Regions from separate parts of the Homo sapiens genome. Here region 2 is linked to region 1. Evidence: promoter capture Hi-C in human tissues and cell types (Jung and others, 2019). All regions are on one chromosome and are shown on one strand. Each heading gives the region's core, a stretch centred on a gene start or on the middle of the fragment in contact. The rest is flanking DNA. Distances are from core to core; before and after follow the strand shown. Region 1 holds the start of EGFR (epidermal growth factor receptor). Region 2 has its middle 86 kb from the start of SEC61G-DT.

What was found. The method cuts DNA at HindIII sites, captures the fragments that hold promoters and counts their contacts. A contact is called where the count stands out against the background at its distance.
Region 2: a fragment that was not itself captured here is called in contact with the fragment with the promoter of EGFR in region 1 in 1 of the 25 tissues and cell types used here (IMR-90 fibroblasts).

The regions. Positions count from the first base shown.
Region 1 is chr7:55,017,654-55,020,408 of GRCh38, reverse strand. It overlaps EGFR (epidermal growth factor receptor), which reads right to left and starts at 1,392. Exons shown (of 28, transcript NM_005228.5): 1 at 1,044-1,392. The coding sequence starts at 1,131. LOC105375284 (a long non-coding RNA gene) reads left to right here and starts at 1,487. Exons shown (of 4, transcript XR_007060329.1): 1 at 1,487-2,755. RefSeq lists an enhancer at 1-392. The HindIII fragment of the contact is 5,592 bases long and covers 1-2,755 here.
Region 2 is chr7:54,843,799-54,846,553 of GRCh38, reverse strand. No RefSeq gene overlaps it. Among named protein-coding and RNA genes, the nearest start is that of SEC61G-DT, 86 kb to the right of the region's middle. The HindIII fragment of the contact is 8,231 bases long and covers 1-2,755 here.

The DNA of each region.
Region 1 (2,755 bases), core at 143-2,642:
GCTTCCGCTCAAGAGTCCCGCGATCCCCCCCTGCAGTGGCCGGACAGCCGCGTCCCGCTCCACCGCGAAGCCCAGGCGCGACCGAAGGGCTGCAGGTGGAGCAGACCCGGACGTCTCCGCGAGGCGGCCATCGAAGGAGAGCCTGGGGCTTTCGGCGCGGGCGCCCAGGAGGGAGCTGGGGTCCCCGGGAGGTGGGGGGCACTCTTGGATAGGCAAGACGAGGGCGCACCGGGCGAGGCGAGCGGCCGGGGTCTGCGCCCAAGGGGCGGGTCGGACCCCACCTGCCTTTTGCCAACGAGGAAACTAACCGCCGCCAGCACCACCCCTCCCCGGGAGCCGCAGGTGGTGGTAGACGAGTTCTCCCAGCTCCCAGGTCGAGGCTGCGACTCCACACTGGGGAACGAGGATCGCGGGGACCTGGAGAGGGGCCGGGGCCAGGCTGGCGGGCGCCGGCTTCAGTTTGAGACCTGCGCGGAGGGCGGAGGCGGGGAGGTCCTCTCAGAAAGCCGCCTGTCCCGCGGGGTCCGAGGGGAGGCTGTATTTTTGGGTTCCTTCCTCAGCTTCCCTAAACAGTGCAGTCTCGGCGGGTGGGCAGCGCCCGCCCCTCGGGTGCGCGCCAGGACCCCGTCGCGCCCTGGGAAGACAGCGCGGGGCGCACGTGCGGGACCCCGGCCCCAGGCGCCCACCAGCACCCGGCTTTCGCCCACTGACGCCGATCCTGCGCAGCTGGGCGGGGAAAGTGAGGGAAGAAAGTTGGGAGCGGTTCGGGGCGCCGGAGGTCCCGGCGGCCGTTCCCCGCCTGGCCTGCAGCCCGGTGTCCCACGCGTCTCCTCCTCCGCCCGCCCCAGACTCTCCCGGCCGAAGAACGAAACGTCCCGTTCCTCCCGCGGTCCCGGTCGGCGGCGCAGCTGATCTCAAGGAAACAGGAAAGGACGGGCGGGGGCGCGGGCGCCGAGCCGGTGCGCCGGTGCGCGGTTGGGCGGGCTGCGGGGTCCGGGGCGCGATCCGGGGGCGGCGCGGGAGCCGGCGAGACACGCCCTTACCTTTCTTTTCCTCCAGAGCCCGACTCGCCGGGCAGAGCGCAGCCAGCAGCGCCAGGAGCGCTGCCCCGGCCGTCCCGGAGGGTCGCATCGCTGCTCCCCGAAGAGCTCGCTCCGGCTCTCCCGATCAATACTGGACGGAGTCAGGGGGCCGTGCGCGGTGGTTGTGGCGTTGGCGGCGAGGCGGGGACTCGGGCGGACGCCGACGAGGTGGCCTGTCGTCCGGTCTGGGCGGCGGCGGCCGCCGGGGCTAGCTCGGGACTCCGGCCGCCTCGGCCGCGTCGGGCGCTCACACCGTGCGGGGGGCGGAGGCTGCTGCGGCCGCGCTGCGCCGGGGGCTGCCCGGACGTCTAGCTCGCGCGGGCCGAGGCGCGGGGAGGCAGGGCGGGAGGAGGAGGGACCAGGCGGCGGAGGAGGGATCGGGAGGAGCAGAGGAGGAGGAGAATGCGAGGAGGAGGGAGGAGAACCAGCAGCGGGGACCCAAGGCCAGCGGCCGCCGGAGGCGGTGGACAGCGGTGGCCCCCGCGGGACCTAGTCTCCGGCGGGAGTGGGGCGGCGCATGGGAGGGGAGCGGGTGCCCTGAGGAGTTAATTTCCGAGAGGGGCGTTCCCAGCACTGCCCCTCTGGACCCGGTCCCCGCGGACTTGCAGGCCCAGCCTATGTCCAGGTCGAGCCAAATCTGTGCCAGGGTCCCCTTCCCCCTTTCCCTTCTTTTGTTTTACAAAGCAAACTTGTACCAGCTTTAGACAGACTGGCCGAGCCTTAGAGCCAGCGTCGGATAATGGCACCGACGGGGAAACTGCTCCTTTATTCGGGTCCCCACCTCCCCTGCAGCACTACGGGACCCTCTCGGGGATCAGAGGCTGGCCTGGCAGCTGAGGAGGTCGCCGTGCCCGCGCGGCAGGGGTGCCAGGCGTCCGAGGTGGTGCTCTAAAGTCCGAGGGTCCTTCAGATCTTGTCAAGCACCCTCGAAATCATCTGAAATGAGGGCACCCAACTCCGGGTGCAGAGACAGGCCTCCTTAATGTTTATTGCAACCAGCCATGGGTACTTTGAAGCCAATGTGTGAAGCACATTACTTCGCAAAAGTGAAGCTCTTGGAATAAAGGCTTGACACAAACAGCCGTGGAGGTGCTTTTAGAGAGGCTAAGTGTCCCACTGCCCCTGTAGCTCCCGCAGGAGAAATGCCAGGGAAACTCGCGGAAGCTTTGGCCAAAAGAAACTGAGCTTTTTTGGGCTGCAGGAACTTGAGCTATATTCCTTTGGCAAGTCCACCCCATCCCCACTGTTCCTTCTCCTGCAGTAAAAATGTCCTCTAGGTCCATGTTACAGCCAGACCCCTCCTCTCTTCACGAGATTCACTAGGACCTTCAGGCCTGGTTCAACAACCCTGATCTCTCGGCTCTGTCAAAAATCACAATCCTGAAGTAAGTGAAGCTACAGACCTGCCCTTTGCTGTCTCTGAAGGGGAGCAACCTTACATCTTTCCTCCTCATCCAGCAAAATGTTTGTGCCTGGGTCTCGCACCCTGCAGCCTGAACGGTGGGGTTTTTCACCAGGGCAAGCGCAGACAGACACAGGTCTGCTCACTGCCCGCACAACCTGGAACTTCCCTGTGAATTAGGAGAAGTAATCTGTTCCTTTGTTTTAACAAATCAGTACAGCCACTGTGCGTTGAAGTCATGCCCTGAATGCAGAGGCCATGAAGGCTCTGC
Region 2 (2,755 bases), core at 128-2,627, 170 kb after region 1:
TGTAGAAGGCTGTATCATCTTGTGTAAGTGCAGCCTATGATGTTCACACAATGACAAAATCACCAAACAATGAATTTCTCAGAACATATTCCTTTGGTTAAGCAACACATGACTGTATTACTAATATGTTATTTGTCTTTTCCACTCTCATTTTGTCATGAGTGATTGAGGGGGGTTTGCAAAGCCTGCATTATGTATGACATCACAACAGATTGAATGCAAAAGCAGATAGAAGAATCCAGTTTTATTCTATTAACCTAGACATTAAAGAGATTTGCAAAGGCCAGGCGCAGTGGATCACACCTGTAATCCCAGCACTTTGGGAGGCCGAGGCAGGTGGATCACGAGGTCAGGAGTTCGAGACCAGCCTGACCAACATGGTGAAACCCCATCTCCACTAAAAATACAAAAATTAGCCAGGCATGGTGGTGCGTGCCTGTAATCCCAGCTACTCAGGAGGCTGTGGCAGGAGAATCGCTTGAACCTGGGAGACGAAGGTGGCAGTGAGCCAAGATCGTGCCACTGCACTCCAGCCTGGGGACAGAGCAAGGCTCCATCTCAAAAAAAAAGAGATTTGCAAAACTGTGAAACAATGCTACCCTTCTCACTAAATTTTTTGTTTAAAAAATGTAGTTTTGTAAAGAAAATTTATTTTACTATCTAATGGGTGTATTATTGATATTATTTAAATGAATTAATAAATAATTGTTTTAAGTTATCAGTTTTAATTTTGAATATAGAAAATATCAATACCTACAACCCACATAAGGAAACACTCTTTGGGGTCTCCAGTTATTTTTAGGAGTATGAAGGAGTCCTGAGACCAAAAGTTTTGAGGACTGCTGACCAAGGCTAAAAGGTTTAGAATTAACCAAATATTAGATAGTTATGCAACTTCCAACTCTGAAATTCTAAAAGATCAATGGTCAATTCTTGCCCATTTTAAAAAAACTATTATTCATCAGGCATTATTGATTCAAAACTAATTGTTTATAATAACTAAGAGGGATGTGTTTTTCAGATTGTTCTGAGGCTCTCTCTACATTTTTTAAATTACTATGTTATTACTTCCCCCAATAGTTATTACATATCAAGAAATTATATTAAGCATCTTAAATATGTAAACTCATTTACTCTTCATAACAACCAGATTAAGTAGGCAGCACAGATTTCCCTATTGTATATGGGAGAGAGCTAAGGATTAGTATGCTAAAGTGACTTGCCAAAGGTCATCTTGCTGATAAATGGTGGAACAGGGATTTCTTTTAACTAAAGTTTAGTCAATTTCAGTACCAGGGTCTATTTCCACCATCTTATCTTATTGTCTTTCAAGCTAGTATTATTGACTTTTAATGCCATTCATTATGATGTATTTTAATTTCTTATGTATGGTCATCATTTGCCTTTAGACCAATACCGTATACAAACGCTGACTGAACTGAATGTCCTAGCATCATGTTTGACCATGGAAGCATGGGTCCAGCTAATGGCATTTAATCATTCATTCATTCATTTGTTCATTCCATAAATATGTATTGAGTGCTACAACCTACCAGATGCTGATCTGTTTTGTTCAAACAGAGCGGACAATAAGCTCCACTTGCTTAGAGAGCTTACATTCTCATCAGGTAAGATAAATAATAAATACTACACAAAAGATAATAAATATACAAATCATATGGGGTGCTGGAAGTTATAAATTCTGAGGAATTCACAGAGCAGGCTAAAGAGAACTATTTTCGTGTGCAGGCAGGGCATGGCGGGGTCAACAACAGGGAGCCTGCGGGTTGAGTGGCATGAGTGAGGAGGAGAACAGGAGGAGACGAAGTCAGAATCACAGGGAAGCAGTGAACCTGCTGCCTCACACCCATAGGAAGAAAGGCCTTGAGCGAAAGGAATAGGATTTGTAGATGGCAGATGACATGGTATCACTTACATTTTGTAAGGATCACCTGGCTTCCCTGTTGAGAATACTGTGGACAAAGGTGGCAATTTAGGAGACAGTTTAGGGAGTTAATGCCAAAATCCAGGGGAGGCATGATGATTTGGCTTGGAGCAGGATTTAAATTCAGGGCCAGGGGTTTTATTTCACAAGTGGTGAGAAGGAAAGTAGTGAGAAGTGGTTGGATTCTGGATACATTTGAGAGGTAGAAGCTGTGAAACCAAGTTTCACCAAGGGACAACTCTAGGTATCATAGAGCAATTGATTATTACTAAAGTCATCCTTGTATCATGTCATCTACCCTAAAATGAAAGTGAAATGACTACTTTCTATTTATATTGTTTTATTTCTAGAATGCTTTGCTTAGAATCCCTTAAAAGTTGCAGGTATGAAAACTCTAGGAGCTGGTTAATAGCTGTCAATGAGTCATTACTACATTATTCATGGATTAAAATGAATATGTGGCTTAGGGCGATTGAGCTCGACTTAAATGACTACCAACAAGTGATTGACAAATGATTTAGGAGACTTCAGTCTGATAAAACGTTTTCCTAAGACTTTAAATTGACTTCTCAGCAATTTTTGCAGCTACTCAAATCCAAGTAAAATTGTTAGCCCTGTCTAGAGAAAGGTCAATTGCTCAAGGTCAAAGGCAAGTAAATACATAATTTAATTGTTCTTGTTTGCTCTGAGTTTTTTAAAAGGGCAGCCTAATATTGATTTGAATTAATTTAATGAGCATGTTCATTTTAAGAGAGAACTAATAGTGTTAAAAGAAATGATTAAAATCCCAGGAAGTTAAACCACCAGGGT